2 separate regions of the Homo sapiens genome follow, and region 2 is linked to region 1. Evidence: promoter capture Hi-C in human tissues and cell types (Jung and others, 2019). All regions are on one chromosome and are shown on one strand. Each heading gives the region's core, a stretch centred on a gene start or on the middle of the fragment in contact. The rest is flanking DNA. Distances are from core to core; before and after follow the strand shown.

Region 1 (6,471 bases), core at 2,096-4,595:
CTTCAATCCATCAGGATAATCTGCTGATCAGGTTTGTGTGCTTTGACTCTAAGCCCCCGGCTATGGATGATTAGAACAGAAGTAGAGACCTAAACTCAGCCAATCAGATTCTCTCTCCCAGAAGAACTGGAAGAGAGGTGGGCTGGTATTCTGGTCACCCGGACTGAAAGGCAACAAGGTATAGAGCTGCCATATTCTGCTATGACCAGCCAAGATCTCTGGTACTGGCTCACGCAGCAGTCTCCAAAACTGAAATAGTCAGGCGACCCCCTTAACAGTTGCCTAATCGAATAACCAACCCTCCCCCCCCCAACTCCACCCCCGACACACAAGTCTGAAAAGCAAAGGCACCAGGGTCACCAAACCACACTGAGGATTACCTTTCCCAAAATTCCCTATCTCCAGTATAGATGCAGCACTAGCCAGGATATGAACTGCTCTGGTTATACTTGTCCAAAATGAGTAGCCTTGAAGGGTAATGGAAATCCTCTCTGTGGCATATCAGCAGCCAAATATGTGGCATCCAGATCGGCTGACCAATTTCTCTACTGCCAAGAAGTTAGCCAACAAACTAATGCCCAAAATTTTTCCTGGTCCTATAATTTACTTGAGCATCACTCTGACCACCACAATATATTCTGATCCAAGGACCATCATTTTGAGAATCCAAGATTATTTCTTCCCCTTTTCTTTCTTTCTATTCCGTTTTTTAGTCTGTTTTTCTTCCTTTATTATAATGTCACACAAGAAGGATGTTACCAATCATTTAATTTAGGAGCAATCGCAGGATGATGGCTAGAAGCTCCACCTAGACCCCAAGGTACCAGAACAAAGTAGTGTAGCCCGGGCTCTGAAAAGCCCAGACTCTAAAAGCTACATGTCTAAGATTAAAAATCTTAGCTTTTCAAATCTCAAGCTGTGTGATTTAGGTCAGGTTAACCTCTCTGTGCTTCAATTTCTTGAAAAAATTGTGAGAATTAAATAAGTATAGAAAAAATGCTTAGACCAGAACCAGGCATGGAATAACCACTATATTAAAATGGGTATATACCATCATCATCATTACTGTCTGTAATGGGATGTAAGGGCGGGGTACAGTTCATCTTCAAGTGTAGGGTAACATGGGTCTGCACAGAGCAGTTAAGGCAAAGAAAAGCAGATGATGCTTACTGCATGTGCCCAGCCTGCACCCCTCACTCCTCTGAAAATTCTCCCCAGTTAGTCTCTGTTGGGCACGTCATATGAATTGTGGGAGAGGGGCCATCTTCTAAAAATGCAAGAAGTAAAGACAGCTGATTTACAGGAAAAGAGGATGAAGCTGATCCACAAACCAAAACAGAGAGGAAGGCAGAAAGGAAGAGAAAAAAAAGCTTCTTTGGTTTCTATCACTTTCCAGTTGCTGGTTGCACTCCAATCTGAGCACTGACTGCTTTTACTCTGCTCTATAAGAGCGAGTAAATTCTTCGCTTTACATTAAGCTTTGGCCAACAACATTCACAAGAGTCTAATAAAAATCCTGGAAAGTTTTCATTAACAAAAAAAAAAAAAAGAACTTAGAAAACTTGTATACATCTGTTACTACACAAAAATTAAAAATGGCAGGTAAAAATAAATATAACTTCAGAGTTCAGTCTTCTCAACCCATCCTAAATCTAACGCATGAATTTACAGAGGTGAGGTTCAGGGTTCGTTGTTTGAAAAGCTCCACAGGTGTTAAAAGCTCTACAGCTGGGGCTCTGAGCCACTAAAACCCTTAAACTTATCAAGTATGAACACCCTTTACCTACACTTATGGTTCTCTGCATAAACTAGTATGGGGCATAACATGTATTAATATGTGTTTACTGGGAACTTAATAATTATTTTTGAAACAGCAGGAGGGAATATGGCAGGCACTGTGCAAACTCCAACAATCTCCGTTTAGAGCAGAGGATACGTTCTTTTGCTCACGTCCACTAAGCAGGTAACCAGCCAACATCCTTCCCCCATCCCATCTCTTGCGGAAAACAATAAATATACAAAACTGAACCTTTTACCGGATTCCTCTTCCTTATTTGAAAAAGAAATCCTAATATCATAAGTGTTACACAAACGAGTTGCAGTAAATGTAATTTCAAGTTTACACTCATCTCTACCTTGATACATTTAAAAAAAAAAAAAATCAGGGTTTCTGTCCGTAAACATCTCATTTATGTCGCCAGTAATTCAGCGATACACACAAATCCATCTCATTCGTCACACTTAGTTAGGACTTTAAAGGTTATCAGTCTGGGGGGAAAAAGTCTCTTCTGTTCTACCCCCATCACAGCCCTATTCCAGACCTCTGCTATACAAGGGTATCAACAATAAAGTTATGATCTTGTTTTAAGACTGAGAAGAAAAAAATATTTTTCCTCAAGAGTAAAAGGGGTGCACAAACCTCACAACATAGACTTTGCAGATTTCTTACTAAAACACTAAGAAAATATCGAGGTTTAAGGCCGATTATTGAAGGCAGGGATCCCCAAACATTAGGTTCCTCGAAGATGTTAGGAGGCAAGGGTGGGAGAAGGGGCCTTTTCTCGTGACAGACCTGACTAAACGGTAGCATCAGCCATAAGAAGAGGAGAGATTCCTAAACGCAACTTCAGCTTTCAGAAAACAGTCCTCCACCAAGTGAGTAGCATGCAGACTTGTGAATAGCCACAGACACGTACACCCCGGTGAAGGTGCAAGATCAAACGTTGCTTCCCACATCGGCCCTCACTGCGAACCGGGATGTCGGGTCCCCATGTGCCCCTCCTGGAGGGCGCCCCGACCCCCCGCGCCAGGTGTGCGGACCACTGGCAGCACTCAGGAGCCGGCTCGCCGCGGCCCAGGCCCGCCGCCCCCGCGCCGCCCGCGTGCCCTCCGCCGGCCCGCTCCCCTCCCCCGCGCCCTCGGCGCCCGTTCGTCCGCGGGCCGGGGCTCAGGGCTCCGCCAACCGGCCCCAGAGGCACGAGCAGGCGGCGGCCGGCGACGTTGCGGTTTCCCCACCTCCTCTCCCATCCCCTCCCCCGCGGCCTCCGCTCTCCACTCCCGCTTACCCTCAACTCTTCGAAATCCGCCATTTTATACCACCCGCGGGCGCCGCCGCCGCTGCCGCCGCACCCACTCCCGCTGCCGCCAACGACGCTGCCGCCACCACGGCCGCCGCCGCCTCCAGCACCATCCTGCACTGGGCGCCGCTTAAGACGCCGCGGCCGCCGCCGCTACAGCCGGGCCCGTCACGTGAACGGCGCGGGAGCTCCGCCTCCGACGCGCCGAAGCCCCGCCCCTAGCGGTGCCCCCTGCCCACCCGCGCGACCGCCTTCCGCCCGCGCCTTCAGTCCGCGCGGCGACAGCGCCCGCCCGCGCCTGCCCCGGCGTGCTGCCCCGCGGCTTGGCCCCGCTCGGCCCCAGGTCGTGCCTTCCCTCCCCGGCGGAGGCCCCTGCGGACTGCCTAGAGCTGGGTCGCAACTGAGGCGTTATCCGCGGGCCTGGCCTCGGGAAGTGGCGGGGAGGAAGAAGAGGCGGCCGGGACGCGTGACAGGAGCATTCGGGAAGATTCTTACGGTGCCCTTCACGCGGTGCCTATGGACGGAGAAAGCCGCCGCAAATAAAACCATCCCCCAGAGTAGTTGTGGCGGAATAATCTAAATATGGGTGTTGGGTAAGCTATTGTTCCCATCTAATGGTGAGGTTGTGTGACACCTCTTTGAATTGCTAATGTCCTGCAAGTACCAACCTTGCCGAGTTTTTCTGACCTTGAAGGGCACCTGAAGGTCACGGACTGCAGAGTTGGGAGAGTTAGGCGGTGGGGTTGGGGGCGGGGAGAAGTGAAATAAGAGCGCTCAGAAGGGCCATGCTAAAAAGTCGGGGAAATCTGATAGCTAGGAAGGAGTCAAACGCCAAGGCAGAGTAAGTAGATAGAAGGAAGCTTGATGGCCCCCCCGTAATGTGCTGATATAGGATGAAGGAAGATGCTGAGTCAAGATGGCCAGAAAAATCGCTGGACGGTGTCCAGGGTTCAATTTCCTTGAAGAATTGGGTGGAACCCACACACGAGAGGTCTTTAAAACAATGTAACTTTTAAGGCCCTGTTTAATCAGCCTCCTACCTACCGCCTCTTCCCACTACCCCTCGTTTCATCCGCACTGCACTTCCAGGTCTTCCTTCCACTCCCCTGCCCCCGCACCCCGCAAGTTTTGTTTTTTTGAGACGGAGTTTTGCTCTTGTTGCCCAGGCTGGAGTGCAATGGCACGATCTCGGCTCACCGCAATGTCTGCCTCCCGGGTTCAAGCGATTCTCCTACCTCCGCCTCCCGAGTAGCTGCGATTGTATTTTTGGTAGAAACGAGGTTTCTCCAAGTTGGTCAGGCTGGTCTCCAACTCCGGACCTCAGGTGATCCGCCCGCCTCGGCCTCCCAAAGTACTGAGATTACAGGCGTGAGCCACTGCACCCGGCCTCCCCTCAAGTTTTAAGGCTTCTAAATGTTGATCCTTGAACCAAGAATAATTTCCCACTCTCTTCTTTGTTCCTAACTCCTGTTCATCCTTCAGGTTTCACTTTAAGTGTCACTTCCTCAGGAAGACCATCCCTCACCCACATCCCACATTTTAATTCAAATTCCCCTGTTATGACCTCTCCTAGGACCCTGAACTTTTTCTTCCTGAGATGTCTCCATGGTAATTATGTAGGTATTTGTGTAATTGTTTATTTGATATATATGTGTGTGCGTGTATATATATATATGTGTGTGTGTGTGTGTGTGTGTGTTGTGTATATATACACAACACACACACATATTGTTTTGGCCAGGTGCAGTGGCTCATGCCTGTAATCCCAGCACTTTAGGAAGCCGAGGCAGGTGGATCACTTGAGGTCGGGAGTTGCAGACCAGCCAGGCCAACATGGTGAAACCCTGTCTCTACTAAAAATACAAAAATTAGGCCAGGAGCTGTGGCCCACGCTCTAAATTCCAGCACTTTGGGAGGCAGAGGCGGGCGGATCACCTGAGGTTGGGAGTTGGAGGCCAGCCTGACCAACATGGAGAAACCCCGTCTCCACCAAAAATGCAAAATTAGCCAGGCGTGGTGGCGCATTCCTGTAATCCCAGCTACTCCGGAGACTAAGGCAGGAGAATCGCTTGAACCCTGGAGGCGGAGGTTCCAGGGAGCGGAGATAGCGCCATTGCACTCCAGCCTGGGCAACAAAAGCGAAACTCCATCTCAAAAAAAAAAAAATTAGCCGGGTGTGGTGGCACATGCCTGTAATCCCAGCTACTCGTGAGGCTGAGACAGGAAAATTGCTTGAACCCAGGAGGTGGAGGTTGCAGTGAGCTGCGATCGCACCATTGCACTCCAGCCTGGGCAACAGAGTGAGACTTTGTCTCAAAAAATAAAAATTATTATTTTAAAATTTTATGTTAAAAAATTGTAAACCCACTAGACTATAATGGCTGATAAATGCCTAACAAATAGTTGGCCTTGTATTTGTTTAATGAATAAAGGAATGAATGAACAATGTCCAGGTTCTAAATCTGTCTCTCCACCATTAACTTTGTGATCTTCGCTTGGCTTATTCTTACTCTTGATTTATTCTCCGTAGACCTTGATTTACACCTCAGTAGAATTTAACATTGTTTAGTAGGCTTTAAGTGAATGCCACTGTGGGAGGAGTTTTCGGGGAATAGACGAATAGAGTACAATACAGCCCTGCCACAGAGGAGCTTACACCCATAAAGAGGACCAACATAAACACAAAACAGTAAGAAAAGAAAAGCAAAGCCCCACTGAAACTTACGTGCAGTGTTCTTTGTAGTTGCTTCCCAGCATTCATTCTGCCCCTTCCTCAATGTGTAGCAGCTCCTGGATGGGTTGGGTAGGTTTGACTGCAAAGAGTTCTAGGTGCTGCCCTAGACTGGCCTGAGTCATTAAGGACTGTTATGTCATTCTGGCCACAGTATTAGATCACAACTGGGCATATAAATCTGATTAGTACTGAGCATTTATAGGCTTTGCCAAGTAGATCAAGTGTGGACCCGTGCCCTAAGGTAGGCTAATCAGAGGGAAGCCTAGGACATTTATTCAGTGATTAGAGATAAGACTTTCTGGCATGTGGAACACTCGCCATTTTGCTACAGTGAAGAGCCAACCTGAGAACCAACCCTTCTTGTGAGCAGAAAAATCACACACACACAAAATCTCAGCATTGACTTTGATACTCACTCTGCCTCTGTACTGGCCAGTTTTCTTGAGCCAATGCCTTTCTTGTAAGGTTTTAGATTGTTTGAGTTGAGATTTCTATTAGTTGCAATAGAAAGAATTCTGAAATAGGGTGCTACTTTGTCTCACCAGACCAGATTATTAATTTGGCATTTTTTCTAATCTATACTCCCCAATAATCATTCAATATATGTTCAAAGGAATGGCTGAGTGGTAAAGGGTAGAAAGGGCATGTTTCTCTTCACTG
Region 2 (6,471 bases), core at 1,772-4,271, 690 kb before region 1:
ACCAGTAATAGACTGAACCACATTTTTTCCTTTTCTGGTTTTGAATTGAAAAATTACTGCTTTATTTGTTTTTTTCCTTTTAGAACTGGTTTTATGAGAATTGGAAGTTAACTTTGGGGATGGCTTATTTCTGTGCTCAGTTTTTGTTTAGGGATATATACATCCTTGTATAAGGATACATATATAAATATATACATATGACTAGAGGTCTCTGCATTTTTTTTTTCCATTTTTTGAGATGGAGTTTTGCTCTCGTTGCCCAGGCTGGAATGCAATGGCACGAACCCGACTCACTGCAACTTCCGCCTCCCAGGTTCAAGTGATTCTCCTGCCTCAGCCTCCTAAGTAGTTGGGATTACAAGCATGTGCTACCATGCCTGGCTAATTTTTGTATTTTTAGTAGAGATGGGGTTTCTCCATGTTGGTCAGGCCGGTCTTGAACTCCCAACCTCAGGTGATCTGCCTGCCTCAGCCTCCCAAAGTGCTGGGATTATAGGCGTGAGCCACTGTGCCTGGCCGATCTCTTTTTTTTGTGTGTAATGATTTTTAGATTTTCTGAACTTAATTTTGACCAGTAGAGGTAAGGTTTGAACACCAAGCAACTTACAATAAATAATGTTAGTATGATTTTTCAGTATAAAATATATGAGTTTATTATAACTGATGGGTTTCCCTCTGAAATTATAGTGCAACATTGGTTAACTATTTCCTCAAACAGATTTTTTTTAAAATTAAGTTTTACATCAACAGGAAGAGCATATTGGTTTTGGATGACTGACTGAATTTTAATGAATCTACAGTCTTTACTTGAAGTTTAGGTGTTTTCAGGGAAGTTCTGTCTTCACCTTCTTCCTGGAAACCCAGATTTTTATTAGACATGGATTTTTAGATGTAAGAAAATATTAATTTAATTTCATCATGTTAAGGACTACTTTTCTATGCATGTGTAAACTGCTTCAAGCACTTAACAGGCTTCTTTTTTGTTTTATGATACGATAATTAATATATTAAGCATGCTTTGAAATGCATTTTAAGATAGAAAAGGTTAATCTTTTAAGAATAACATAGACAACTTATTGCTAGTATTGTATTGACTGGATCCATTCTGATTTTTATTGTTATTGAATAATCAGGCAAGAGCTCTGTAGATTTTTTTTTGCCTTTAAGAAAAAAATTTCAGTGGAATGGAATTAACAAACATAGGTAGCCTTTTTTATTTTTTGGGAGATAGGGTCTCACTCTGTCATCTACACTGGAGTGCAGAGGTGCCATCTTGTCTCACTGTAACCTCTGCCTCCCAGGTTCAAGCAATCCTCCCGCCTCAGCCTCCCAAATAGGTGGGACTAGCACCTGGCTAATTTTTATATATTTTGTAGGGACGGGGTTCTGTTATGTTGTTCAGGCTGGCCTCAGACGCCTGGGCTTAAGCGATCTGCACACCTTGGCCTCTCAAAGTGCTGAGATTCTGTGGGATTCGCACCTGGCCTAAAACATAGGTATTAATAGTTATATTCAAGGTAAGAATAACATTTTGAATATTTGAAAAGGTGTTGAACACTAATAATTTTGGAAAGCCTTTTCTACAAAATTTTGAGGAAAGGAAGAAAAAGAAGTTTTGGCAGAAAGATAAGGAATGCCAGAATACACTGATTAAATTCTTAGAACCTATACCAAAATATTAAAAATTTTTCCTAAAGTAAAATTTGACATTCTGTGGTTTGGAGAGTTTAACTTTAGGAGTAATTTATAACAGAATCATATATATGAAAAATTTTTATCTTGATTTTCAGTTTTTGCAGAGTGCTTTGAAGGTAATACATTGCTGTCTGAAGGAGTGTTGTTTTGAAAAAAAAAAATAGATTTTGCTTTAAAGTGGTTACACCTTTTCCAGGTAGTGCAATTAAAAAATTCCCCTTTCAACATACTTTGTTTTTATATTACAGACATTTAAAAAAGTGTCAATATGGTAAGTACTTGTTGTTTTTTGAGACAGAGTCTCGCTCTGTCGTCCAGGCTGGAGTGCAGTGGCGCGATCTCAGCTCACTGCAAGCTCCGTCTCCCGGGTTCATGCCATTCTCCTGCCTCAGCCTCCTGAGTAGCTGGGACTACAGGTGCCTGCCACCACGCCCGGCTAATTTTTTGTATTTTTAGTAGAGACAGGGTTTCACTGTAGCCAGGATGGTCTCGATCTCCTGACGTCATGATCCGCCTGCCTCAGCCTCCCAAAGTGCTGGTGTTGTTTTTTTAATTTTTTTGAGATGAGGTCTCGCTCTATTGCCCAGGCTGGAGTGCAGTGGCACGATCACAGCTCACTGCACCCTCAACCTCCCAGGCTCAAGTGATCTTCCCTAGTAGCTGGGACCGCAAATGTGTGCCACCATGTCTGGCTAATTTTCTTATTTTTTGCAAAGGTGGGGTCTTGCTCTGTTGCCCAGGCTGGTCTTAAACTCCTAAGCTCAAGGGATCCCCCAGCCTCGGCCTCCCAAAGTGCTGGGATTACAGGTACGAGCCACCACGCCTCGCCTTGTGAAGTAGTGTTTTTTGTTTGTTTGTTTGTTTGTTTTTGAGACAGAGTCTCGCTTTGTCGCCCAGGCTATAGTGCAATGGCACGATCTTGGCTCACTGAACCTCCACTTCCTGGGTTCAAGCGATTCTCCTGCCTCAGCCTACTGAGTTGCTGGGATTACAGGTGCCCACAACTGGCCCGGCTAATTTTTGTATTTTTAGTAGGGATGGGGTTTCACCATACTGGCCAGGCTGGTTTCAAACTCCTGACCTCAGGTGATCTGCCTGCCTCAGCCTCCCAAAGTGCTGGGATTACAGGCGTGAGGCACCGCGCCTGGCCTGTGAAGTAGTTTTAATATGTACATTTTTTACATGACTAGTGTAGGTTATTGCATTCTCTTTCCCTGAGGCAGTCTGTATTCTCAAGATTACATGTATAGTACTAATAATAGTAATAAGTGGGAATTACTTTTGGATTACATGACGGCATTTTTATGTAGCTATTGTTTAAGTCCCTAGTGGCCCTCCCTTCGTTTCCTCTGAATTCCCTTAATTTTCCTAGAATTTTAAGAAGGTTAAGGACCATGTCCTGTTTGTATTTATTTGTACTCTATGAAGGGTTAATGCTGGAAAGAAATCTCTTTCAACCTACAACACTAATCCAGAAATGGTTGAAATGCTTTTTTATTTAAGAATAAAATCCCATATCCGGACTATTGTATCTCTCTAATATGTGCATATGGAATTTTCCCTTTGTCTAATCTATCAGATAATTTTTTTCTCTTGTTTTCATGGGAGAGAATTAAAAGGATTAAGCTGCAGACTTTTAAAAAAGTTACTTCATTTAAAAAATCGCCGAATGTTGTAAAAAGAATAACTTGAGAAATGTTAGGAAACAAATTATAGTTTTAACTACCACAGTTATAATTTTATTACTGGTTGTTACATGTTGATACTTCCTTTTAGTGTTTCTTTTTAGTTGGCATTTAAGAGGCCATTATCCTCTCACTAAAGGTAAATGTGTTTTTGATAATCTAGCTACAGCCTGCTTTCTGCCTAGTTTGTGCTAGCTCAGTCCTAGGACATTAGATATCTAATCATCTTAAGAGAATTCAACCAGCGGATTAGAGTGATCTGGTTATTTGAGCCACTTATTAGACAATAATAACTCTCTTAATCATATTGATTGTACTTTTTGTACATTATTAAAATTGAGCATAATTTTTAAAGCCCACATAAAATTTTAATTTAGAGCCCAACAAGGTCAAGTTAAAATCTTAAGGCTTAATATTTTACATGAAGTTTTACTTTTTTAAAAATTAGGAGTAGCATACAAATTATTTGGAGGGCTCCAAGGGAAAGTGTTATCTGTTTTTTGTTTGTATGGATTTTTACTAAGAGAAATTAGCCTGGTTTCAGGGATGTGTGTATGCATGTGTGTACCCATCTTCAGAATTCTGAAGTAACTGAATTTCATTAATATTAGACTTGACAAATGGCTGGAGGCAGATAACTGTACAGTTGCTACAGTGATTTCGAATGGATTCAGATTATTAATATAATACCTGTTTATTGCTTCCTAAAGGTATGTAAGAAAATAAAAGTTGCCTACATATAAACCTAGTTATGGTAATTAAGCTTGAGAAAAAATGTCTTTTTAAAAATGATTAAAGGTTTGGGGCTTTTTTTTTTTTTTTTTTTTTTTTAAATCTCACTAGCAGACCGAATAGAAGAATATACAGTAACTAATTTATTTTGAGTATTGCTTTTGTCATTCCCTGCTGTTACTAAGATTTAACAGCAAGAGTCTCTGGGTCTAGGTATATCTCAATTTACATACGATTTTTCTTTCTTTTTTTTTTTGTTTTTTGTTTTTTGTTTTTTTTTGAGACAGAGTTTTGCTCTTGTTGCCCAGGCTGGAGTGCAATGGCATGATCTCGGCTCACTGCAACCTCCACCTCCCAGGTTCAAGTGATTCTCCTGCCTCAGCTACCCGAGTAGCTGGGATTATAGGCGCCTGCCACCATGCCCGGCTAATTTTCTGTATTTTTAGTAGAGATAGGGGTTCACCATGTTGGCCAGGCTGGTCTCGAACTCCTGACCTCAGGTGGTCCATCCGTCTTGGCCCCCCAGAGTGCTGCCACAGCGCTCAGTCTGATTTATTTCTTAAAAGTTGTATGCAGAATGATTTAAAGTGTATTAAGTCTGCTTGTTAATGAAAGAAACAATATAGTGAATTCTTTTTTAACCAAAGTACCCTAAATTGATATTACTGGTAATTTTTATTTTTAACATATAGCTGACTTTGCCTAAAGGTATACAGTTACATGAATGTTATAAGAAAGATGGCAAACAGGCTTTGTGTTATCATTTGTTTAAAATAGCAAATTATGGGCAAGTTATCTTACAAAAAGGTAGCCTTTTAAATTAATTGTACCTTTTATATTTTATTTAGCTTATGTTGATTTTCATCTCCCCTTTTAAAAAATTATTTAAATAGTACAGTGAGGGTGAAATGAAAAAGATTTTGTGGAATGCCACATGTCAGAAAATACAGTGTCAAAACAATTTCAGTAAATTTTTTTTCTCAAAATCCTCTTCAAAAATACCATATGCCCTTAATCCTAGTACAGATAAAAAACATGTCATTTTAATTTGTTTAGAAGTTACGAGATTGTGAATTGTAAGTAACAGGGAATAACTTCCAAGTTTCTTTACTCATTTTTCCCCCGATTTCTATTTTTATTTCCTCTGAAGTTTAGGAAAGTTAGTGGAAGTTGCAACCAAACTGTTTGTTTGCTAGTATTGAGTAGATATTCTCATGTTGTATTAAATTACCACAGTGTAAAATAGAAGATGTCATAAAAAGTGAAGGAATAATCCACAAAGAAGTGTATTCTATGGCAATTAAGTCTTATTCCTAATATAACTTTAAGATTTGGGAAGAATGTTATGAAATTACTGTTTTTATTTTATTGCATTTTCTTAATATCCTTTTCCTCACTGTGCATTTGACATGTAACCTAGATGAATAAAAATTTTGAAAAAGAAATGTTTCCTGTTACTCTGTTGAGGATGGGGTTATGTGGTTCCCTACCAGTTAATTCACATTAGGTGTTCCTGAATCAAGAAACTTGCTTTTCTGTAATGAAATAAATGGTATTAGTTTCTAGTTAATATAACAATAGATTTTGCATATTTGGCAGATTATTTTTAGTTTTTTTGGTAATTGAAAAAAAGAATACCACTGTGAACATAAAAAGTCAAGATTCTTTTTCTTTAAACTATATGTCCTACTAAACTGTCCTATTAAAAATTGATGGATATTTGGAAAAATAGCAAAATTTAGACTGATTCAAGGAGAAATCAAAAGGCTAGAATGTGGAATGGATGACTCTTTAGCAGGGTACATAGACATAGGGATGTGGCTAATATATCTAAATTTTGTGCTCTTTCTTGCTGTATGTAGTACAGATATTTTAGTTTTTTTATCTATGGATCTAAATCCTCAAAGCAGTAGGTCATGGATTTGTCCCTGAAATAGATAAATTGAAAGATGGTGACCTCTTCAGGTGCCTCATTTCTGTATTTATAGCTTCTCTTAAATATCCAGATGAATTACCTGAGTTATCTTCCAAATAACCCCACTTGAATCAGAGGCTTCATAACTTTATAGTTAGTGGTGACACATTAAATTGTTTTTTCTTTTGATCAGCTTTTCCATTACTCTGATAATCTTGGATCTTTGCTTTTACCTCTTTTGATCTTTTCAAAATGGTAAACCCTTCATGAATATCATAAATAGCTTTCCTGGGTGGACAAAATGATGTAACATTTACCAGTATAAGGACAAATGTAATCCTTAAAATCTTATTTTCATCTTGGAAACTTTATAATAAAAAGTTTAAATTTTTAATAATTGAGTATAATGGAAAAAGTACAAAATACATTCATTTGGTTTTATTT

Evidence for each region. Contacts are between HindIII fragments. The study calls those that stand out against the background at their distance.
Region 2: a fragment that was not itself captured here is called in contact with the fragment with the promoter of KATNAL2 in region 1 in 1 of the 25 tissues and cell types used here (lymphoblastoid cells).

Annotation. Positions count from the first base shown.
Region 1 is chr18:46,914,257-46,920,727 of GRCh38, forward strand. KATNAL2 (katanin catalytic subunit A1 like 2) reads left to right here and starts at 3,346. Exons shown (of 18, transcript NM_001387690.1): 1 at 3,346-3,670. It overlaps PIAS2 (protein inhibitor of activated STAT 2), which reads right to left and starts at 3,251. Exons shown (of 14, transcript NM_004671.5): 1 at 3,066-3,251. The coding sequence starts at 3,089. RefSeq lists silencers at 2,621-2,700, 2,771-3,510 and enhancers at 2,647-3,400, 4,908-5,660. The HindIII fragment of the contact is 6,925 bases long and covers 643-6,471 here.
Region 2 is chr18:46,227,380-46,233,850 of GRCh38, forward strand. The region is part of intron 2 of ARK2N (arkadia (RNF111) N-terminal like PKA signaling regulator 2N); the gene reads left to right. Among named protein-coding and RNA genes, the nearest start is that of ARK2N, 57 kb to the left of the region's middle. The HindIII fragment of the contact is 6,789 bases long and covers 1-6,416 here.